Linked DNA regions of Homo sapiens: regions 1 and 2 are each linked to region 3. The links are contacts of gene promoters, found by promoter capture Hi-C in human tissues and cell types (Jung and others, 2019). All regions are on one chromosome and are shown on one strand. Each heading gives the region's core, a stretch centred on a gene start or on the middle of the fragment in contact. The rest is flanking DNA. Distances are from core to core; before and after follow the strand shown. Region 1 overlaps TRAPPC8 (trafficking protein particle complex subunit 8). Region 2 overlaps TRAPPC8 (trafficking protein particle complex subunit 8). Region 3 holds the start of RNF125 (ring finger protein 125).

Region 1 (3,573 bases), core at 891-3,390, 140 kb after region 3:
TTTTGATGTAGAGATGTGGGAAGTCTTCTAGCTGTTACAGTGGGTGCTACCCACTCTACTGTCTATCTTCTTTTTGTGGTGGCTGACATTGGATAACTGCTTTGGTGTTTTTGCTGCTTTTTTGGTTTTCTACAGGGTGTACTTTTATAGTGTGTTTGGTCAGCATCAATTTCCCATCCCTTCTTTTTTGGTCATCTTTTCTGTCAGACATACTGCTGCTGGCACTGAGAGGTGGTCTGTACCTCTCTCTTTTTTTTTTTTTTTTTTTCTGAGATGAAGTCTTTCTCTGTCACCCAGGCTGGAGTGCAGTGGCACGATCTCGGCTCACTGCAACCTCTGCCTCCTGGGTTCAAGTGATTCTCCTGCCTCAGCCTCCCAGTTAGCTGAGATTACAGGCGCACGCTACCACGCCTTGCTAATTTTTGTATTTTTAATAGAGATGGGGTTTCACCATGTTGGCCAGGCTGGTCTCGAACTCCTGAACTCGTGATCCACCCACCTCAGCCTCCCAAAGTACTGGGATTACAGGTGTGAGCCACTGCGCCTGGCTGTACCTCTTTTAAAACAGTAATTACAGAGGCCAGGCATGGTGGCTCATGCGTGTAATCCCAGTACTTTGGGTGGCTGAGGTGGGTGGACCACGAGTTCAGGAGTTCGAGACCAGCCTGGCCAACATAGTGGAATCCCATCTCTATTAAAAATACAAAAATTAGCCAGGCGTGATAGCATGCGTCTGTAATCCCAGCTACTTGGGAGGCTGAGGCAGGAGAATCGCTTGAACCCAGGAGGCAGAGGTTGCAGTAGGCCGAGATCGTGCCACTTCACTCCAACCTGAGCGACAGAGCGAGACTCTGTCTCGAAAAAAATAAAAATAAAAATAATTACAAATTCAGGAGGTCCATGTCTGTGTTTGCTGCATGAGTATATTGTGTAATGCTGTGATTTGGGCTTCAGAGAACTAACCCATCACCCAAATAGTGAATATATTATCCAGTAGGTTGTTTTTCAACCCTCACTTCCTTCCCTTCCTCTTTCTCCCCTTTTGGTGTGCCCAGTGTCTATTATTTCCTCTTTATGTCCGTGCATGCCCATTGTTTAGCTCCCACTTATAAGTGAGAGCATGCCTATTTGATTCTCCATTTCTGATTTATTTCACTTATGATAATGGCCTCTACCTCCATCCATGTTGCTGCAAAGGATATGATACCATTCTTTTTTATGGCCGTGTCATATTCCATGGTGTGTATGTACCACATTTTCTTTATACAGTCCACCATTGATGAGCACCATAGGTTGATTCCATGTTTTTACTACTGTGAATAGTGCTGTGATGAACATAAGAATACAGGTGTCTTTTTGGTAGAACAATTTACTTTTCTTTGGGTACATACCTAGTAATGGGATTACTGGGTTGAATGGTAGTTCTCTTTTATCTGTTGGAGAAACCTCCAAATTCCTTTCCACACTGGCTGAACTAACTTACATTCCCACCAACAGTGTATAACTGTTCTGTTTTCTCCATAGCCTTTTAAAATAGCCATTCTAAACTGGTATGAGATGGTATCTCATTGTTTCGATTTACATTTCTCTAATGATTAGTGATGTTCAGTATTTTTTCATATTTTTCATGGCTGCCTGTGTATCTTTTGAGAAGTACCTTACGTCCTTTGCCCATTTTTTAATGGGATTATTTGATTTTTTTTCTTGATTTAAGTTACTTTTAGATTCTGGATATTAGTCCTTTGTCGGATGTGTAGTTTGCAAGTATTTTCTCAGATTTTGGACGTTATTTATTCTGCTAATAGTTTCTTTTGCTGTGCAGAAGCTTTTTGGTTTAATTAGGTACCAGTTGTCAATTTTTGTTTTTGTTGGCATTGCTTTTGAGGACTTGCTCATAAATTTTTTGCCAAGGGTGATGTCCAGAAGGGTATTTCCTGGGTTTTCTTCTAGGATTTTTTTATACTTTGAGGTCTTATCTTTAAGTCTTTAATCCATCTCCAGTTAATTTTTTGCATATGGTGATAGGTAGGGGTCTAGTTTCATTCTTCTGTATATGGTTAGCCCAGTTATCCCAGCACCATTTATTGAATAGGGAGTCCTTTTCCCCATTGCTTAGTTTTGTAGACTTTGTTAAAGATCTGTTGGTTGCAGGTATGCTGCTTTATTTCTGAGTTCTGTATTCTATTCCATTGTTCATGTGTCTATTTTTTGTACCAGTACCATGCTGTTTTGGTTACTATAGCCTTGTAGTGTAGTTTGAAGTTGGGGAATGTGATGCCTCGGGCTTTGTTTTTGCTTAGGACTTTGTTGGCTACTCAGGCTCTTTTTTGGTTCCATATGAATTTTAGAATAGTTTTTTCTAATTCTGTGGAAAATGACATTATTTATTTGATAGATAGTTTGTTGAATCTGTAGATTGCTTTGGGCAATATAGTTATTTTAACTATATTGATTTTTCCTTATCTGTGAGCGTGGGTTTTTTTTGTTCTTTTGTTTGTGTCTGTACTTTCTTTTATCAGTGTTTTGTAGTTCTCTTTTACCTCCTTGGTTAAATGTATTCCAGGTATTTTATTTTGTGTGTGTGTGGCAGTTGTAAATGGGATTGAGTTCTTACTTGGTTCTCATCCTGAGTTTTATGACTGTATAGAAACACAACTGATTTTTGTGCATTAAATTTGTATCATGAAACTGCTGAAGTCATTTATCCTAATGACTACTGTCTTTAGGAGGAATCTTTAGGTTTTCTAGGTATAGGATCTTGTCATCATTGAACAAAGATCATTTCACTTCCTCTTTTCCTATTTGGATGCTTTTTCTTCTTTCTCTTGCGTGATTGCTGTGGCTAGGACTTCTAGTACTATGTTGAATAGAAGTGGTGTGAGTGCAGAGTGTACATCCTTGTCTTGTTCCCCTTCTTAGGGGGAATGCTTTCAACTTTTCCCCATTCAATATGATTTTGGCTGTGAGTTTGTCATATATGGGTCTTATTATTTTTAGGTATGTTTCTTACAGTGCTTAGTTTGTTAAGAGCTTTTATCATGAAGGGATTTTGGACTTTATTGAATGCTTTTTCTGTATCTATTGAGATGATCATATGGTTTTTAATTCTCTTTATGTGGTGAGTAACATTTATTGGTTTGCAAATATTGAACCATCCTTGTATTTCTGGAATAAAACCCACTGGATTGTGATTAATTTGACTTTTTGATGTCCAGCTGGATTTGGTTTGCTAGTATTTTATTGATGGTTTTTGCATCTGTGTTCATCATGGGTATTGACTTGTTTTCTTTTTGTGTGTATGTCCTTGCCAGATTTTGATATCAGGATGATATTAGTTAAGGAGGAATCTTTCTTCCTTAAAAAAAAAAAAATATATATATATATATATATATATATATATATTTTTTTTTTCAATAGTTTCAGTAAAATTGGTACCAGCTCTTCTTTGTGCATATGGTAGAATTTGGCTTTGAATCCAGCTATCTTGGGCTTCATTTGGTTGTTTATTTATTTTTTTTTTTAATTACTGATGGAATTTTGTAACTACTTAATGACCTATTCAAGATTTGAGTT
Region 2 (4,078 bases), core at 1,097-3,596, 190 kb after region 3:
ACCTACCCAGTAGTCTTTGTTGCCCTTCTTGCCACATGAGAAGTTTGTGGGGGAAGTTAGGGCATAGCACCAGTACAACCTGGTATGTATTTTAAATCATCTTAGTTTTTGTTTAGGGAAACCTGTGACGTTTGCGGTATTGTTTAAAAAGTATTTCTCAGTAAGAAGATATAAAGTTTCTGAAAGTATAAAATATATTATCTGAGCAGAATTTAAAAGTTAATGTGTATGAACTTATACGGTTACTATTTTTTCTTCTTTACTATCTTTGTGTTTATAGAGTAAAAGGTAGATAATAGTATATAACCCTGCTTCATTTGTACATGTTATATTCATTTCTTGCATTCTTGATTTGAAATCTGTACCACTCTATTCGCATGTCCTCTTCTATCACTGCCTTTTTTCCTATGCTTTAGTAATTTATTAATTATGGTATCAGAAACTAGGCTACCTGAGCAAAATGTATCCACTCGAAAGAGATTTCCTCATAACTATATAGAAATCATTCTTATATTCTTCAAAACATGATGTTGTGCAAATTTGATAGAAAAACAAATGTCAGTCTAGGCCAAGTTCTCAAAATTAAGTAATTTTTAATAAGCACAAAGACAACAGTATTAGTTGTTGGCATTTTCATGGTTTACTTTTTCTTCATTGATCTAAGTTGAGATTTTGTTTTTCATTTTGTGAAATATCTAGAAACATTTTAGTTGTTTTTAGAAGATTAATAAATGAAAATAAAATAGTTCTGTGAATGTATATATTCTGATATTTAATATTGTCATTGTATTAATATATTTTTTATTTACAATATAATTTGTCTTGAGTGATTTTGGAACTTGAGCTTTTTCCTTCTTGAATCTGATTGTTTTTAAGGAGCTTATGCTCTGTTACATAGTCTTAAGTGTTATTTTCAGGAAAATTGCTTTTAAGAAGAAAAAAATATATAACTTTTTTGTTTATTTTTCTTCCATAGCCTTTGTTTAGTACCAGTCACTCTTTTACTTTCCAATTGTTCTAAGGCTGATGTAGATGTCATAGTTGATCTTCGGCATAAAACAACAAGGTAAAGATTTGTTTAGTGCAAGGTTATTTGATTTGGGAGCAATTTAATATTTTGAAATTATGCAAATAATTACCTAACATGGATAAGAAAGTTACTCAAGCTTGTCCTGGTTTTTTGTTTGGTAATATAGAAGGCTTACAGATGTGTTACAGAGGCTTTAAATATTAAAGATTTTTTTTTCTTGATTATAAAATAGTACTTAACAACAAAAAAAAATCCAGATCCACAGTCCCACATCAGATACTCCTAGAGCCAAATGCTTTTGGGAATTCAGAAATTTTTGAATTTTTGGAAAAATACTATAAAGCGTATACTTAATATTTTTGTATAACACCCCAAACAGGATCTGGGACAGTTCTCTGAAATCCAAACACACACCTATATATGTGATTTTGTGTATCATAAATTTATTAATACTTTATTGGGTACTGGGTTTTCCATTTTTCAATATTATAAACAGTTTCAATATTAAAAGCATTCATGTACAGACACTTATATATGGCTAACTAAGGAGTTAAAAGTTTAGGTTTGAAATCAAGTTCCAACATATACTAACTCTTAGGGCATTAAATGAAATAATCCACTTTTAGCATTGTGCCTAGAGAATAGAAACTATTAAATAATAAATGTTAGCTGTTATAGTAATGATGTTGCTATTATTAATAAACAGTTGGCTTCATAAAATAATTTTTAGAAATAGAATTGTTAGATGAAAGGGATGTTTGTTTTCTTCTTGAGATGGAGTCTTGCTCTCTCATGGGCTGGAGTGCAGTGGTGCAATCTCAGCTCACTGCAACCTCCGCCTCCCAGGTTCAAGTGACTCTCCTGCCTCAGCCTCCTGAGTAGCTGGGATTACAGGCGTGCACCACCATACCTGGCTAATTTTGTATTTTTAGTAGAGACGGGGCTTCATTATGTTGGTAGGCTGGTCTTGAACTCCTGATCTCAGGTGATCCACCTGCCTCAGCCTCCCAAAGTGCTGGGATTACAGGCGTGAGCCACCGCGCCCAGCTGAAAGGGATATGTTAATGTGACTTTGGGAAAAAAATTAAAAAGAAAAAAATCCTGCAACTTACATTTTCCTCCTCCCTTAGTCCAGAAGCACTGGAAATCCATGGATCATTCACATGGCTTGGACAAACACAGTATAAACTTCAACTTAAAAGCCAGGAGATTCACAGTCTGCAGCTGAAAGCATGCTTTGTTCATACAGGTGTTTATAACCTTGGAACTCCTAGGGTATTTGCCAAGTTATCGGACCAAGTTACAGTGTTTGAAACAAGTCAGCAGAATTCCATGCCTGCCCTGATCATCATCAGTAATGTGTGACAACTTGGAAATTTGTACTGAAATCCACAATAATCAGTTTTTGCTGGATGGGTTTTACAGCAGTATTTGATATACCTAACTTGTTATGGAGGTTGATTGATATCTGATCCCTGCAAAATACTTTGACTTGTCATTTTGTTGATGATGCAAAGCACGTTGGACTGAGAATACTTAACATTCTTTTTCTGTATTTCTTTAAACCCTGAGAATAATTTACATGCTCATAATACAGGATATCAGCATATTTGTGCACCTTATTAAGCCCCATCTTAAGAAAACACAAAGTCTAAGTCTGCTGTTACAACTTGTCAATGGTATACGAATATTAGGAGATGATTCTGAGAAAGGAAAGGCCTTGTTGGCAGTACTCCTGTTAAGCCATTAGTCTCTAAATTCCAGCTTTACTGTGAAGTTCTATAGAGTGTTAAATACAAATTTTCCTGTCTTGCTTCACACAGTTCCTTAAAATCAGTTTTGAACTTTGGTCATAGAGTCTTCATATTTCAGTATTTGGTGGTCCCTATGACTTATACATAACTTTGTAAAAAGAAAAAAAAATTTTTTCTGATGCTTTGAATATAGTTTTGAAAGGAGTTTTGACTTTTTTCCCCTCATTCATCTCAGTATAGAGTGCGCTATTTCACAATACGATTTTTGTCATTAAAATTACCATATTCTTTATTATATAACGTTAACTATTGAGTTGATCTGTTTAAAATATAAATCTCAAGTTAATTAAAAATAAGCTTTTCAAAAATGTATTATATTTATAACAAATATACTGTAAATAGAATAAAGACATGCTATTCACTGTATAGCGTATTAGTATCTGTTGATTAGAAAGTCTGGTTTCAAAATATTTTTTTATTCAGAGAATGGGCATTTGGACATAAGAAATTTCAATTCAGCCCTGCTGCAGATAGAGAAATGGGAGCAAGGTTGTTTCAATGAATATCTCTTGTCATTGGAGAAGGAGGGAAGACAGGGTGTAGGAGTGGGTGGCAGGGAGTACAAGAGCCAGGGTCAGTCAAGTCTGGAGCAGATGGGGTCCTTGTGCCATTGACAGCTACCATGGTTTGTTCCAGTCTCAATCTCGGCACTAATCGGAGCAGACTGCACCAAAGTGGGGAGAGATCAAAAGACCCCGTTTTCAGACTGAAGATTCCAAACCTGTACTTGGAACAACTCTTCTTGAGAGATGGGTGGCTAGTCTGTGTGCCTCTCTGCAACTGCTGCTTATGCTTCTGGATCTTAAGTGGGTCTCTGGCTTTTCAGCTCCTTCCACTCTGTGTCTTAGCAGGTGTGGGACAAGTTGGAGAGGAAGGTCACATTCTAAGGACACTCATTTCCTTCTTGAGAGTTTAGGGCCATGGGCTTATAAAAAGTCTGAGGAGGAAAGACAAGAATGAGGAGGCATAATCACAGTGGTATCTCATATTTAAACCACTCAGCTGAATATTAAATTGAACCGATTGTTAAACAGACACTAATAAAAAAATTAAACTATATAAACCTACAACTGAATATATTAAAAATAAAGGTAATAAAGCACTCAAAATTACTTCCTGAATATTACTCAGGATTATTTATGTCTATTTTATCTGTATCCTGGAAATACTACACAATGGTGTGTTTCTGCTCATCTCTTGCCAACCCTACATTCAGTGACTTGCTGGTAGCTTG
Region 3 (3,861 bases), core at 583-3,082:
GATTACAGGTGTGAGCCACCACGCCGGGCGTCAAAACTTTTGACTGCAAGTGCACAACATGTTTTTAAGGACTACCTAAATCCTTTCAAAAGTGGTCCTCAAAAACATGTTGTGCACTTGCATTCATAATAACGGTATTTCTTTCTTCCTGCTAAGCCAAATGCTGGTACAAGCCACTGTGGTATCACACATGGCTTCATCATACTATAGTCACCCTTCAAAGGACATTAAGTAGGCTTCCGCTCCTGATCTGTGCAGACACAACACACACACACGTATCCACGAAAAAAAATCAAAGCAAAGAGAGAAGGCTGGGTGCAGTGGCTCACACCTTTAATCCCAGCACTTTGGGAGGCCGAGGTGGGTGGATCAATTGAGGTCAGGAGTTCAAGACCAGCCTGGCCAACATGGTGAAACCCCATCTCTACTCAAAATTCAAAAACTAGCCGGGTGTGGGGGTGGGCGCCTGTAATCCCAGCAACTCGGGAGGCTGAGGCAGGAGACTCACTTGAGCCTGGGAGGCGGAGGTTGCAGTGGGCGGAGGTTGCAGTGAGCCGAGATAGCACCACCGCACTCCAGCCTGGGCGACAGAGCCAGACTACGTCTCTCTCTCTCTCTCTCAAACACACACACACACACACACACACACACACAGTAAACAGAGAGCACAAATTCACAGCTCCAACTCCACCAGTTATTCAAACACACATTAAGGATGTGCCAATTTTATATAGGGACTTTGTTTTTAAATTCTTCTTAGAAACGACCACGGCTTTGCACCAACTGTGAGTTTTAGCTAAGTACTATGCGGTTTTGAGAAAGTTATTTTACTCTGTAATTTCCGCCGGTTTGGAGAGACCGTGCGTAAAGCAGGTAGCCTGCCACCTCCTGTTACGTTGTGGCTGGGTTTTGAAGGAGTACATTCAGGGGCTTGGCGGCTAACGTCCAAGCCCCACCCTAGCAGGTTGTTAAACTCTAACAACTGTGGAAAGTCACTCGGAAGCTCCAGTTTGACTTGCCCTTTGAGGGGCTGGGTGTCTGTGTTGGGAAAGGGTAGCAGGGGTGGGGGTGGAAAGACACTTTGCACAGATCCTTGTTTGCTTAAGACGAGCCTCTGTGGGCATTCTGGGAACACGTGCACAGCTCCAGCAAAACAAAACGGACCCGGGTTTCTGGGGCAGAGGGAAGCGCAGCCCGTTCTACCGTGTTCAGCGGGGTAACTGCGCTTTGCGGGAGCCCCTGCCTTGTAGCTGGAGCTCGTTTCCTTTCCGTGCCTGGGCGAGCGCTGGTTCTCCAGCCAAGAGCACCCTCCCCAGTTGGCGAGCCCTGGCTCTGGGCGGGACCCGTGCCTGGATCCCCTTCTCTGGAGTTCCGCACCTGGGCTTCGGGAGCTGAAAGCGCAAGGGGGCTACAGGACCCGCTTGTTTATTTTTTCTCCTCCCGAAATCCTGTGTCACCTTCCGACCCGCGTTTTCCCCGTGGTCCTGCATCCGACGGGTCCAGGTTTCTCCCTGCAGCAATTTCCTAAGAGGCTGTCTTCCGTCCCCCTCCTTCCCCACACCATGCCCTCAGCTTCCCCACATCGCCCTCCTTAGGGGTGGGCGCAAACCGAGCTCCCCTGGAACTTACACGTGGCCACAGCGGGTCCGGACAGGCTGGTGTAACACCTCAAGGCACACGGCGCAGTCGAAGGACGTGACGGGCAACTCCGGGTCCCTCCTGCGCTCCAGGGCCCGCGCGGTGGCAGAGGCGGGCGCCGATTTGCCGCTGTCGGTGCTCAGCACGGAGCCCATCGCTGTGCCTCTCGCCCAGACAGCTGCGAAGCACTCAGTGCCTGCCGCAGGGTTGTTTTGTTGCCGTGCGGTGGAGGAAGGAAGTCCCGGCCCAGCTGCGATCGCCGCCTCCCAGCTCTCCCAGCTCGCGCAGCCCAGAAGCCACCTCCGCCGCTGCGCCCAACCCTGGTCTAGGGCAGGGCGAGCGCGCGGCCGCGGGGCTGAGATCTTCGGCAAGCCGCCTAGGTTAAGGCGCGGAGGCGGAGGCGGCAGCCGCCCCGTGCTCTGTCTTGTGGTATTGGGAGGATTGAAACCTGAAACCTCAACTGCAGAGAAGAGGACTTGAGGCAGCAGTAAACCTTCCAAGCTATCACACACAGCTGCTTTCCCCACTGTCAGAAGTTAAGTGCGGGCGTGGCCATGCTTAATGATAATCAGAGAACAGCCGCTTTTAAGGTGAAGTGGAAGACCATCCTCCACTGTTGTCATCACAATAAGCTGCAAAAATGACCTATGACCTATGATTGGGCGTCTCCTAAGACGGTGCTATCGCTACTCTGTCATCCAATCAATAGTCCATTAATGGAGAGATAGCCTGGGTAGTGGAAAGAGTCCTGGAGATTAGGATTCCAATCTTACCTCTCCTACAGAGATTCTAGTGCTAAACCCTGCCATCTCCAGTTTCCTCTGCGGCTCAGGATTTCCTCTGTTGTTTGTACGCTCCCCACCCCGCCCTTTAAACATGATCAGCCAGGCGCGGTGGCCCACGCCTGTAATTCCAACACTTTGGGAGGCCGAGGCGGGCTTGAAACTCCTGCTTGAGGGCAGGAGTTCGAGACCAGCCTGGCCAACATGGTGAAACCCCGTCGCTGCTAATAATACAAAAATTAGCCGGGCGTTAATTTACACTTTTTACGAAGACTTATTTAGTGCCCACTGCACGCCAGACTCGGTTCTAGTGATGAAGACACAATCGTCAACAAGCAAACAAAATCCCAGTTCTCACAGAACTTACTTTAAAAAACAAAAACAAAACTTTGAGATAATTATAGATTCACATACAGTTGTAAGAATAGTACATAGTATATAATACACATATACAATAATATATAATATAACACATGGGATATAATAACGCATATAATACATGTACGTATTTAGCAGGCCATAAACTTCACCCAGGCTTTACTTTTAATTAGGAGATATAGGCCGGGTACCGTGGCTCACGCCTGTAATTTCAGCACTTTGGGAGGCTGAGGTGGGAGGATCACTTGAGCACGGGAGCCAAGATCACACTACTGCACTCCGTCCTGTGCGACAGAGTGAGACCATGTCTCAAAAAACAAACCAAGCCGGGGCAGTGGCTCACGCCTGTAATCCCAGCACTTTGGGAGGCAAGAAGGACAGATCACCTGAGGTCAGGAGTTTGAGACCAGCCTGGCCAACATGGTGAAACCCTGTCTCTACTAAAAATACAAAACTTAGCTGGGTGTGAGCTACTTGGGAGGCTGAGGCACAAGAATCGCTTGAACCGGAAAGGTGGAGGCTGCAGTGAGCCGAGATCATGCCACTGCACTCCAGCCTGGGCAACAGAGGGAGACCCTGTCTCAAAAAACCAAAACAGGCTGGGTGCAGTGGCTCACGCCTGAAATCCCAGCAATTTGGGAGGCCGAGGCAGGTGGATCACAAGGTCAGGAGTTCAAGACCAGCCTGGCCAACATAGTGAAACCCCGTCTCTACTAGAAATACATTTCTTTAGTAAAAATTTTTGTACTAAAAATACAAAAATTAGCCAGGTGTGGTGGCACATGCGTGTAGTCCCAGCTACTTGGGAGGCTGAGGCAGGAGAACCACTTGCACCCAAGAGGTGGAGGTTGCAGTGAGCCGAGACCATGCCACTACACTCCATCGTGGGTAACAGAGCGAGACTCTGTCTCAAAAACAAACAACAAACAAAAGGAAGATACATGTAATCAATCCATAAACAAATGAACAAAATCATTTCAGATAATCAGAGCCATGAAGAAGATAAAACAGTAAATGGCAATGAGGAGAAGAATAAGCTCAGAGAAGAATTTTTGGATGAAGT

Evidence for each region. The method cuts DNA at HindIII sites, captures the fragments that hold promoters and counts their contacts. A contact is called where the count stands out against the background at its distance.
Region 1: a contact is called between a fragment that was not itself captured here and the fragment with the promoter of RNF125 in region 3, in 1 of the 25 tissues and cell types used here (mesendoderm cells).
Region 2: a fragment that was not itself captured here is called in contact with the fragment with the promoter of RNF125 in region 3 in 1 of the 25 tissues and cell types used here (mesendoderm cells).

What each region holds. Positions count from the first base shown.
Region 1 is chr18:31,879,920-31,883,492 of GRCh38, reverse strand. All of the region lies in intron 12 of TRAPPC8 (trafficking protein particle complex subunit 8), which reads left to right. It also overlaps the pseudogene LOC100421591. Among named protein-coding and RNA genes, the nearest start is that of TRAPPC8, 61 kb to the left of the region's middle. The HindIII fragment of the contact is 6,100 bases long and covers 1-3,573 here.
Region 2 is chr18:31,829,072-31,833,149 of GRCh38, reverse strand. TRAPPC8 (trafficking protein particle complex subunit 8) reads left to right here. Exons shown (of 29, transcript NM_014939.5): 28 at 977-1,066; 29 at 2,161-3,953. The coding sequence ends at 2,395. Among named protein-coding and RNA genes, the nearest start is that of SLC25A52, 70 kb to the right of the region's middle. The HindIII fragment of the contact is 4,013 bases long and covers 340-4,078 here.
Region 3 is chr18:32,016,796-32,020,656 of GRCh38, reverse strand. RNF125 (ring finger protein 125) reads right to left here and starts at 1,832. Exons shown (of 6, transcript NM_017831.4): 1 at 1,630-1,832. The coding sequence starts at 1,793. RefSeq lists enhancers at 1,071-1,120, 765-1,637, 1,937-2,231, 1,638-2,510 and a silencer at 1,937-2,231. The HindIII fragment of the contact is 18,790 bases long and covers 1-3,861 here.